3 separate regions of the Homo sapiens genome follow, and all the other regions are linked to region 1. The links are contacts of gene promoters, found by promoter capture Hi-C in human tissues and cell types (Jung and others, 2019). All regions are on one chromosome and are shown on one strand. The core of a region is centred on a gene start or on the middle of the fragment in contact, and the rest is flanking DNA. Distances in the headings are between cores, read along the strand shown.

Region 1 (3,888 bases), core at 826-3,325:
TATTCTTGTTAGTTCCTATGGCATTTCTATAAATGACCTCCCACCTGTTTTGTTAACTTATAAAATCACTGAGAAAACTTGCTTGTGTGTCTCTTTAAACTCCTGTTAAGCCTAGAATAGCGGTTAAAAAAATTGTATGTTTTCAACCAATATGTATTAGTCAATTAGCTTTTACTGAACCATCAATACTCAGTTGTGTTTATGATTTTTATCCTTGCAAGACACACCGTTTTAGAGATTCCAGTTAATGGGATAGATGGTAATTTAAGGATCTTTTTGATGCTAAGAGTCTAAGATGATCAAATCTATCAAGGAGAGATCTTGGTAACAATAAAGATGTTTTAGAAAAACTTGGGAATTTATTAGCCTTATATAGAGATACACATAATTCCAGTAGAATACAGTTATATAGATAGAAATTATGCATATTTACTAGTAAAAAATCTGCTAAATGAATAAACAGCCCTTGGTGTTGCTGCCCAAAGGCCTTTGGTGAAACCTGATGGGTTTTTCTGTACCACAGAATAGTCAAGGAGAGCCTCTGGAGAAGAGCATGCGGTCTGGATTTGGAAGCCTCAGTTTGATTTCTGGCTTTGTCACTTACCTTAGGCATTCAGTAAGTCACTTCACCTCTGTGTTCCTGTTTCCTCATCTGTAAAACAATGATAATAGTAGTAACTACTTTATAAGGTTGTTATAAAGATTACATGAGTGAATTCATTTCCATAAAATACTTAGAATATTATCTGGCCCATAAGCACTATATACATTCTCATGGTTTTTCTTGTTTCTTTTCATAGATATAGGTGGCTTCCAGACAATCTTTCCATACTTGGTGGTTAGAGCAGAAGAGATTCATGAAGAGCACTGCCCTTTGAAACAAAATCTCATATTCAGAAAACTGATGCCAAACACCAAGTAGCATGATTTCACTCTGAAGCAGTGTTTCAGCCATTGCCCTGGAATGGTTTTAAAGCAAGTGATATACTGCTGAAAGTGCTGCCTTTGATATTAAATGTTCATTAAAAATCTTCACTAAGACATAAAGTTTTTCACTACTATCTCTTGGTAAGGGTTCAAATTTGAGATGAAATTCCTTAAAGTGGTTAAAGCATTCATTGTCCCCTCTGCCTGATGCTTTTAACTAGTTTATTTTACAGAAGGAGTACTCTCTTCAAGTGGCTGTAGATTGAGACACTCTTACAGGCTTAGTTGTTGAGTCAACCACATTTAAAAAATGCACCTGCCCTTTGGTTTATGGTGCGTAATGCATTCCTCTCATAAACTGTAAATTGACAAAATTCCTTTGCCATTTTAAAATTGCTTAAAGTATTTATTTTTCTATATTCCTTGTAAGGAACTCCCCTGAGCACTCTTAACTTAATTGCTCTCTGAAAAATATTTTAAAGAAATTCCAGAAGTGGTAAAGCTCAGAGGAGCCCCACAAATACAAAGTGCTGAAGTAAAATATGATGCTAAATGGTGATAAGAGACTTAAAACTAGATTTCATTGTGATAAGAATGTGATAAAGTTTGATTGTAATTCTTATACCTCCTTTCAGAAAATCATGTTATAGAAAAATGTTCCTAAGCAGTAAAACAAAGCCATTTTAAAAAATAACTTCTCATGTGCACTCTTTAACAACCTAAGTGTTATGAAGTCTCTCAATTGAGATCTTTAACCGTAAATAGTTTTTGCCTTTTGTATTATGTCCAGATCCTATTTAATGCAATTAGAATACAAATTCCTATGTACTGAGGACCTTGATTACATAGATGAGATATTTCTTAGTTCCAGTTGGTGTTTCTCATCTCTTGTCTTCTCTGACCCTATTTATACATTCTCTGTTTTTATCAGATGATTCTTCCCCAGAACGGACTGGGAGAGCGAGGTCCGGGTTTCCTTCTATTTATTTGCATCGATGTCGCTCCGAGTCTTCAGCACTGGGCCGCGTATGACAGCATCTTAGTGGGTGCGGAGCGGGACAGCGCGCCGGGGGCGTGGCAGGGGCGTGGCCTGTCCGCGGGGCGGGGAGTGCGGGGCGGGGCTTCCGCGGAGCGCAGCGAGCGGGCACATCCCAGGTTAGCTGCTGCGAGCCGAGCCGGGCGGCGGAGGCGGCGGCGGCGGCGGCAGTGGCGGCAGTGGCGGCAGTGGCGGCAGCGGCAGCAGTTGCAGCAGTGGTGGCCAGAGCGGATGCTTGCGGGCTCCCTGCGGCTCCACTAGTTTTCTTCGCCCCGCCCAGCCGCCCACTCTTCTCGGCTAGGGAAGAAGACCAGAGGGTGCTCAGCTGGAAAACTCTGGTGTCTCAGCTTAGGGCCTCCTCCGGGAAGAGCTAACTGCTCCCAGGTGAAGCCGGTGCCCGCGGGCGGTCCGTACACCCCGCAGCCGGCTCGCACCGCTCGAGAGCCTCGGCCGCTGTGTCTTCCACGTCTGCAGCTCAGCCAGGGCGCGCAGGGCGAGTGGGGTCCACTGGCGGGTAAAGGGGACCAGGACGGCGAGGATGGACGCACAGACCTGGCCCGTGGGCTTTCGCTGCCTCCTCCTTCTGGCCCTGGTTGGGTCCGCCCGCAGCGAGGGCGTGCAGACCTGCGAAGAAGTTCGGAAACTTTTCCAGTGGCGGCTGCTGGGAGCTGTCAGGGGGCTGCCGGATTCGCCGCGGGCAGGTAAGGGGCAATGAGGGGGTCTCTGGACTGGCGGCGTCCGAGCCCGGCCTTCGCTCCCCCAGGCTCCCTTGGTGGCACTCGTGGGAAGATGACCTTTCGGGCCCTGCAGCCGCGCAGGGTGAATCCCGGGGAGGCTTCCGGGGATGCTTGGTGCGGGTAGCCTGAGTGCAGCGCAGCGCAGCTCTGGGGACCCCTAACCAAGCCTGCGACGAATCCCCGTTCTGGGCATCTGCTTCCCGCCCGGCTCCCTTCGTCTTGGAGGATGAGTTGGAAGGAACCAGGAAAGCAGACATCAGGGCGTGGGGGACACGCAGTCTAACTCCGTTTCTCTTCCGAGTAGGAATTTCCCCAGTGCCCCACCGGGGATTTCGGTTTACTGCTTTCTCATAAGGTGGAGGGAATTGAATTGATCGCCCCAAGTTTGGTACTAAAAATCACAAACCTGCGATATACCCCTTTGCTGGAGAATGGGGCACAGACAAGGGCAGCCGGTCTCCTCTGTAATTAGGACTTGGACCCTGTGCACCCAGAGACGTGACCCTTAGCTGCCCTTCTGTGCCCTCGTATCAAGCCCTGCTTGGAGGAAACCCAACCACCCAGTGTGTCTCCCAGCACCAAGGTAGTTTTTAGCCTGAAAAGTGTTAGGGCAACAGGCGATCAAACCGAACGTACTGGGGAGTCACTTGACATGGATGAGATGTACCAGCGTTCCAAAGGGAAAGATACAGTTTGTGTGGCCAGCGTGGATCTTGCTTCCTGTGAGCGCCTTTTGCCTGTGCTTTCGAACCCTGCTCCCCGTTTCCACCGCACCAATTTCCTTCTGCTGGTGGGAGTTCCAGTGTAGGTTCTGTCTGGAAGAATAGGTCATAGCTGTCAAACGCAATAGCAGGTGTCTAGAGCTAAGTAAGATCTCACTAGAGCCATGCACCCCTTTAGCTGTGACTATGAAGCCAACACAGACGAATCTGTGAGGTTACTGGTTGAACAAAGAACTTGTGGAGGACGCTTAAGTCTAAAGTCCCGAGTTTCCAGGGTTGGGGGACTTGCTTGTAGCAATGAGGAAGTGTGAGCTGTAGCCGCTTTTCTTGATTGCTTTGCTCAATTTTAAGTCATCCCAGAAAGAAAATCTAGGCATTCGGGAACACTGACTCCATTTGAGTTTACATGACCAGTCTTAAACCCAGCTATTTCTTTGTATACCTGTTTGGTACTAGGTGCTTTTTC
Region 2 (3,888 bases), core at 356-2,855, 340 kb after region 1:
TTCTTATCTATTGCAATCTAACAAATCATTCCAAAACGTAGTGGCTTAAACCAACCATAAGCATTTATTATCCTATTTTCTGTTAGGAATTTGGGAGCTAATTAGTTGCGGGGTTCATGCTCAGGGTCATTAGAGAGACTGCTGTCAAGAAGGCAGCTAGGGCTGTGGTCATCTGAAAGCTCAAGTGGGGCTGGAGTATCATCTCCCAAGATTGCTTGCTCACATGGCTGTTGGTGGGAGGCCTCCGTTTGTTGTCACAGTGACCTCTCCATAGGACTGCTTGAGTGTCTTCACATTGCGGCTAACTTCCCTCAGAACAAGAAATCTAAGAGAGAGCAAGGCAGAGGCTGCCGTCTTATATGAGCTGGACTCAGAAATCACATACTATTGTTTTTGCAATATTCCATAGGTTACACAGGTCATCCCTCTTCATTGTAGAAGGGGACTATGCAAAGGCATGAGGGATGAAACTGTGGGGAGTTATCATGGAGACTGGCTCTCATCCATCTCATCCACCTGTGGAAAGGGATTAGACTGCCACCTACCTCAGGCTCTTGGCAGCAACTTACAGGCAATGACTGACTGACACAGGGATAGAAGAGGCTTGCCCCTTGCTTCAAGGTGTGGGACCAAACCTGGTGAAATGCATGCTTCAGTGCTTCTTGTGGTATCTGGCTGAAGCTGAGCCCACATCCCCACTTAGCTTCTTCCGCCACACCTGCCCTTGCTTCCCTTTCTCGCTTTTACCTAAAAGCACTCCCTGATGAGTTGCCTGCATACTGATTACTGTCTTAGGCACTGCTTCTAGGGAATCTGACCTAGAGATGCCTGAATTTTTAAAGGTACCTAAAATAAATGCAGAATGAGAGTAAGTGAAGGCAGGATTACAGTATCCTCTCCTTAGGATAGAGAAATCTCTTAATATTCCCAAGTTCCTAACCATTTTTTTCTCCCTGTTTTTCTATATTCATTTCACAGAGGTCCCTTCTGTTAAATACATTGCTTTTTCCTTGTTTTGCTTCTAACATTTGAAGAAGGAAAATTTCCTTATTCCTGGATAAGAGTTGTGCTAAGCTCCTTTGTGGACATTGTGAGTCTTCTTTTAGCTTGGAGAGAGGGGAGCTAAACCATAGAGTTGGATTCTTTTATTTTGGAGACGTAATTGTCCTGATTCAATTTCCCCAATCCATTTCTGTTTATATAGCATGCTAATAATGTGCACATCAAAGACCCTGAGTGATTGATACATACCAGTTACGGAGGTCTCCAAAGTTGAGCAAAGTAAGGAAGAGCTACTGCTCCTTTAAACAGCCAGCAAAGCATCACAATTTTCCCTTTTTGAGCAGAGACCAAATCAACACAGCTGTAAAGGACATTGCGCTCATATAGTTGTCTAAAGCAGGCCAGGCAGAGTGATTTCCCTGTGGCAGTTCCTGCTCTCTGCTTGATTTCTTGAAGTTAGCTGGTAAGAATAAGCTATTAGCAAGCTTAAATCGGTGATAATTAGCTGTACATTATTATTTCAAAGTGGTGTGGCTGTGCCAATTAAGTAGGTAATTAGGAAAACCCCAGGACAATAAATTAAGATGGAGTCTCAACACCAGTGCCCCATCTGTTCTCCAGCAAGCATTCCAATTAGCCAGGCCTCTCATTTCAGAATGCATGATTAAGGGGATTGGCTGCATGCATGAGTGTGTATTTGCATAATAGGGAGTGTCCTAGGTGCTTAGTAAAAATAAGATATTTTTACTATCAGACAGGATTTTGATGTCAAGGTGGGGAATGCAGAATTTTTAGAAATATTGGATTTTTTTGAAACAAAATATAAATTTTGAGTTTTTTTCAATTTTGTCTTCAGAACTTAATTGAAATATTATATCATTAGACATTTCCAGTTCATTCTAATGCATTTATTAAATCGTGATTTGAGTGAGAATTTTATCACTTGGAACATTAACAGTTTTATTTATTAAGAACAGAAAGCAAAGAGGACACTTGAAATTGCAGTTTAATGAAAGAAATGAGGCAGGGCATGATTCTCATTCAGAATGTCACTGTCAACTAAAGTAAATTAATATCCTGTACATTACAGAAAAACACAGGGAAGTGTTCAAAATAATTAAACGTGGGAAAAAATTTTAAATGTTTATTCAGTGAAGAACACTTAATGTTATTTAAGATTATTGCTAAGGTAGATAGATTCATATTAAATGGCATCAGTTAGTTTAAAATGCATAGAGTTTATAATAAAAAAACATAGAGCTTATAGTTACATAGTCAAATCTTATCTAATACAACACTTTATTAATGAATCCAAAGTTAAATTTAAAAATTCTTGATATTACACACTGAGTATATATGTTTGTTTAGATGGTAAATCAGTATTGAGATATACTGGACTTAATGATGAATTGTATATACAAATATTCAGTGGATGAAAATATTCATAGGTCTGAAAAAATAGTCGATTCTTTCAGAAAAATTTAATATCATTTATAGTAGCAGAGAAAGCAGTTTACAATCTATTTCCTCGTAAGTGAAAGTTAGTGCGTCTTTGAGGTGCCATCATTATTTATTACCTGTAAACTTAACTTGTGAAAATAAAGGTCATGTTTTCAATGAAAAAAAATCTGCTTAATGTAAAACAGTGCTTGTTAGGTGGTGGTACTGAGGGCTTCCAGAGCAGGGCAGGCCAAGACAAAGCTTTGGATAGGAGGCCAGAGCAGGTATGGAGGGAACATGAGCTCATGAGCTACAAGGCAGGCCAGAGTCAAGACCTACATGAATAATGAAGATCAGGACCTGCAGGGGGTCAAACTACAGGCGCACAGGAAAAGCAAATGCCAGAAGGCAGAGCAAACATATGGCAAAAGTTCAGGCTAGTGGTTCTTAACCTTTGGGGATCATGTATCCCACTGAGAATCCCATGAATGTTCCCAGAAAAAGAAAGTTCACAGACAAATCCATGCAGAATTTTGTTGCATTGAAAAGTACTTTGCTCCACCTAAAACTAATATTAAAAACAGAAAATGTTTTAAAAATGCTCTTACTTTCTAGATGTTCATGAAAAAATTAATGGCCATTTCATGAATCATCTTAAATGAAATCCACATAGTAGAAAATTATATTATGCACACTAGTCCTGAAAGAAGAGGCAGGTTCAACTATTTGGCACGAACTAGAAGTTGACATTGCAGTTGGTCTTGGATGTGGCTACGTGCCCATATGTTTGGTATTCAACAGATGCCCACTTTTTGTTTTGAGGGTAACAATTACTGGAAATTATAGAAAACGTATGCAACTATCATATCCAGTGGCTGCAATTGGAACTCCCCTAGTTTGCTTTCTTAGATGAGGATAGGCTTAATTCGGGGAGCATGACATTTATTCAAACTCTTCAGGCTCCATTGGTGTTTCATAATGCTTACATCCTTAAGTTGCATTATGATATTTGCTGTCAACCTTAGGTTAGTGTGTGTGGAAATAAATCTCTCCACATTTCTAACTACAGAAAGAATAATAAGTATAATTTTATAGCCATAGACATGGCTAGAAATTGGACAGTTTTCAAACTGGTCATCCAAAAACCTTCTGTTTCTATGTAGGCGCTTTGCCGAAGAGCTAGAAGCTTTTAGTAATGTATGTAATTATTACCGTGGGCCTATCTCACTTATATGGCTGAAAACATCTTTTCCACCAAGAAAACCAAACTGTGAATAAATTATCCTTATCTAATATATCTAAGAGTATGTTTTCTTTTTGCTTTTCTCCCAACAAGTGAATCTTCTACCCCTTTTCCTTTGGAAAGTCAGTAAAGGTCTACAGAGTTGGAAAGAACCTCAAGTTCAGCTCCTGTTGTTACAATTTTTTTTACTGAACTTCTAGAAG
Region 3 (3,888 bases), core at 791-3,290, 260 kb after region 1:
GGAAATAGATGAAGACTACCTAAATCAGAACAAACAAAGCCTCTTTATTCAGAGCTTGCTACAGCAAGGTAGTCAGTCATCATTGCTTGAGTTTGGCAGAGAATCAAAGGCAGGCAGAGGAATAGAGAAGCTTAATAGAGGAAAAAAAGAAAGGCTTCAGGTTGTTAGAGGCTGTTGGCATGGGGAAACTGTCAAAAGAATAAATAGAAGCAGGGCATCATATGTGGTTGGTTAGGGGAAACATGTTTGGGTTTGTCTAGCTGGCTCTACATTGGAAACAGCAAACAAAAAATTGGAGGTTATCAGTTATTGATTAAGTTTTGGCCATTTGGGGCTGATTGCTACAGAGGCTGTGGTTTGACTTCCTGGATGGTTTGCTGCAGAGGTTATGGTTTGGCTTTCCAAACTGGTTGTGGCAGCTTGTGGGTCAGAGTTTTATTTTTATGTATGGTCTGCCCATTGTCTAAATATTGAGTCTCTTATGAGGCACCCTGTGGAGTGGCCCACATAAGTGAGCCTGGAAGCAAATATCTGAGGCCTGCCAATAATCACATGATTGAGCTTGGAAGCAGATCCTCACCCAGTGAAGCTTGGAGATGACTGCATTCCCGGCAGATTCCCTGAACATAACCTTGTAGAAGATCCTCAGCTGAGACTCTTCCTGTAAGTTACTGTCTGATTTCTGACAAATAGAATCTATGCAATAATAAATATTTGTTGTCATCAACCACTAAATTTTGGGATCATCTGTTTGCAGCAATAGTTAACTAATACAGATGGGAAGGATATGGTCTTTTGTTAATCAGATCACCAGGAAATTTAGCTCAAGGATTTCAGGTAGGTTTATCTGGAAGGCATAGACAATTGTAGTATTTCTCAGAAGGGACCATTTCTATCTCAGAAATACAAAATCTAAGTCAGAAAGTTAAGTCACTACTCCTTCTTAAACCTTCTCCTCCTTCTCTATTATTTTATTTAATGAAATCATTTACCCCACCCACTGGCTAAAAAAATCTCTAGTCTTCTTTGATTTTTGAACCAAATATTTAGTATCTACTATGTACAAGGCAATGTGCTGTCACTTAGAATGGAACACAATTACTTGCTCTTGTGGAGCTTACATTCTTTTGAGAAAAAAATATAAAAGAAATAATAAACATATTACTTGTGTGTGGAATAAGGGCAGATTCTACATCCTTGCAGGGGTAGAATAGGCTTTGTTGATACACACTGTAAGGCAAGGGTCACCGAGAGAAGTATGGGTCCCCTGATTCTTCCACAGTCTGGCAGGGCCTTCTGCTGGCCATGCAGTGGATCTGGGTTGCGGTGAAGGGACATCACCCTCTGTTGCTTTTCTTTCTTACTGTGATGGCATGTGGACAACTTTGCTGGCTGTTGGAATGACTATTTGAGCAGAATATCTGGGCAGCATTTTAGAATTGTTTTTTGAAAAAGCCAGATGTTCGATACCTGGTAACCCTGGGAATTTTCAGGCCCTCATTCCAGGAGAAGATGCCCCTGGGCATGTGGATTTCCATGGGGCCTGAGTTCAGGTGCAGCCCCTCCAGCCAGGATTGGGGGCAGGTTCCTCTGTCCCTCATCAAGAACTCTTAGGTTTACTTTCTGGCAATTATGCTTGTTGCATTGCCATAATAAATAAGTCATTTATGCAATGCATTATGTGATAAGTACTGTGGGGAAAAAAAAGTAGAACCTTCTACATAGGGCTTGAGAGTGGGTTATATTAAATAGATCTACTGGAGAAAACCTCATTGAGAAGGTGACATTGGCACAGAGAATTGAAAGAGGCCATGAGGACATCTAGGGAAGAATATTCCTGAGAGTTGGGGGAAAGTCTGTAAGTCAAGAATGTCCTTGGTGTGTTTAAAGGACTGTAAGGAAGCCAGCATAGCCAGACTGGAATCAGAGAAAGTGAGAGAATTAGGAGAGGAAGTGAGAGAAGCAACGAGGGGTCAGATCATTCAGGGCCCTGTGGGACTTTTTAAGAACGCTATTGTTACTTCAAGTGGAGTGGGGAACAGTCATAAAGTTGTCAGCAATGAACTGGCACGGTCTTATGTCTTAGAAATTTCATTAAACTGCTGTTTTGAGCACAGTCTAGACATGTCTAGAGTTCAGACAAGAGATCTAGGCTGGAGATACACAATTGGGAGTCATTGGCTCACATATGGTATTTAAAGCTATGAGATTGGATGAGATCATCAAAAAGTGAGTGAAACAGAGGGAAGAAGAGAACTGAGGCAGGAGCCCTGGGACCTTTTCAATTAGAAGGATGGAGGAAGAGAAGGAAACAGCCAAAGAGGCTGAGAAAAACATGACCAGTAAGGTTGGCAGAAGGAAGACCAAGAAAGTAGAGTATATTGGAAATCAAGTAAAGAAAATGTATTAAGGAGGAGGGAATGAGAGACCGCCAAATGTTGCTGACATGTCACCTATGATGAGGACTGAAATTCACCAACTGATTTGGCAATCAAATGGAAGTCACTGGTGAAGTTTGCAGGATTAATTTGGTGAAGTAGAGGTGACATCTTGATAAAAGTCAGTTTTATAGAGAATTGGAAAGAGAATTGGAGAGAATGATAATGTATAAATCTTGAGTAATTTTGATACAAAGAGCTGCAGAAAATTGGGGCAGTAAAAGTATGAGAAGAATTTTTCCCCTTATGATCTAAGTAATAAATCTCTTAACTGGTGCGAACATTTAGATATCTAATCTTGTTCCCTCATTCAGTTTTATCTTTTAATATTATTTTCTTCCATCTCCTATTGTTATTACCCCAGGGATTTTCATTTGGTTCTGTATTGTTTCTCACCTGGACTATTACCCTAGTATCTTGCTGTGCTCATTATTACCATATTACCATCTCACTACTCCCATAGTATCTTCCTGCTTCCAAGGAATGCTCCATTACTCCTGCTGGCACTCTCTCCAAAACATATACTACCTGTGATGTCATTACTCTTTCAAGCTTAAGTCATCCAATGACTTTCCAAACACAGCTTGGCTACAGCTGCTATGCATGCTGGAATTCCAGCAAAACAGAGAGAGATGGATAAATCAGAGCTGTGAGAGGAAACTGGAACTAGATTTTGTGTAAGGCTAGCCTGCAAGATGGGGAAGGCAGCTACAGCTACTGTTGCCTCACTTACAATGTCTAAGAGGTTGTGGGGAGGAGAGATCTTAATCAAGATCTTCTAGTAGTGGAAGGCTTGATTTTCTAGGTAAGAATACAAACGTTCTTGACTTATTCTCTCCAGTACTTAGTTCAGTATGGTTATATTCAATATTGGATTTGCGGCCACAGACAATTGTAAAGACCCATATTTGGGGGAACATAAGATTCCTAATATTTTGCCAGGTTTAGTTCTCATTATTTCAGTTTTTAGTTACATATGGAAGGTTTTCAGGTCAAGCATTACATGACATTTATTTCCTCACTCCGTGTACATACCAATATATGCTTGTCCATGTTGTGAGTATACCTACATTTTGCTGTATAAATATATGTGCTTATTATTCTTATATTTTAGCCTCTTTTTTCCCCCTGAATTTGAAACTGATTTTGTTTCTTTGCTTTTCTTTTTAGAGACAGGGTCTCACTCTCTCATTCAGGCTGGAGTGCAGTGGCATGTTCAAAGCTCACTGTAACTTCATATTCCTAGGCTCAAGTGATCCCCCTGCCTCAGCCTCTCGAGTAGCTAGGACTACAGGTGTGAGCCACCACACCTGGCTAATTAAAAACATTTTTTTTTTTGTAAAGACTGGGTCTCACTATGTTGCCAAGGATGGTCTCTAACTCCTGGCCTGAAGCAGTCTTCCCACATCAGCCTCCTGAGTTGTTGGGATTACAGGCATTAGTCATAGCT

What was found. Contacts are between HindIII fragments. The study calls those that stand out against the background at their distance.
Region 2: a fragment that was not itself captured here is called in contact with the fragment with the promoter of GPC5 in region 1 in 1 of the 25 tissues and cell types used here (dorsolateral prefrontal cortex).
Region 3: a fragment that was not itself captured here is called in contact with the fragment with the promoter of GPC5 in region 1 in 2 of the 25 tissues and cell types used here (dorsolateral prefrontal cortex and lymphoblastoid cells).

What each region holds. Positions count from the first base shown.
Region 1 is chr13:91,396,546-91,400,433 of GRCh38, forward strand. GPC5 (glypican 5) reads left to right here and starts at 2,076. Exons shown (of 8, transcript NM_004466.6): 1 at 2,076-2,664. The coding sequence starts at 2,502. LOC124903189 (a long non-coding RNA gene) reads left to right here and starts at 332. Exons shown (of 2, transcript XR_007063831.1): 1 at 332-616; 2 at 801-1,043. RefSeq lists silencers at 1,890-2,184, 1,891-2,160. The HindIII fragment of the contact is 16,121 bases long and covers 1-3,888 here.
Region 2 is chr13:91,739,380-91,743,267 of GRCh38, forward strand. The region is part of intron 4 of GPC5 (glypican 5); the gene reads left to right. Among named protein-coding and RNA genes, the nearest start is that of GPC5, 340 kb to the left of the region's middle. The HindIII fragment of the contact is 3,119 bases long and covers 47-3,165 here.
Region 3 is chr13:91,659,869-91,663,756 of GRCh38, forward strand. The region is part of intron 2 of GPC5 (glypican 5); the gene reads left to right. Among named protein-coding and RNA genes, the nearest start is that of GPC5, 260 kb to the left of the region's middle. The HindIII fragment of the contact is 3,363 bases long and covers 360-3,722 here.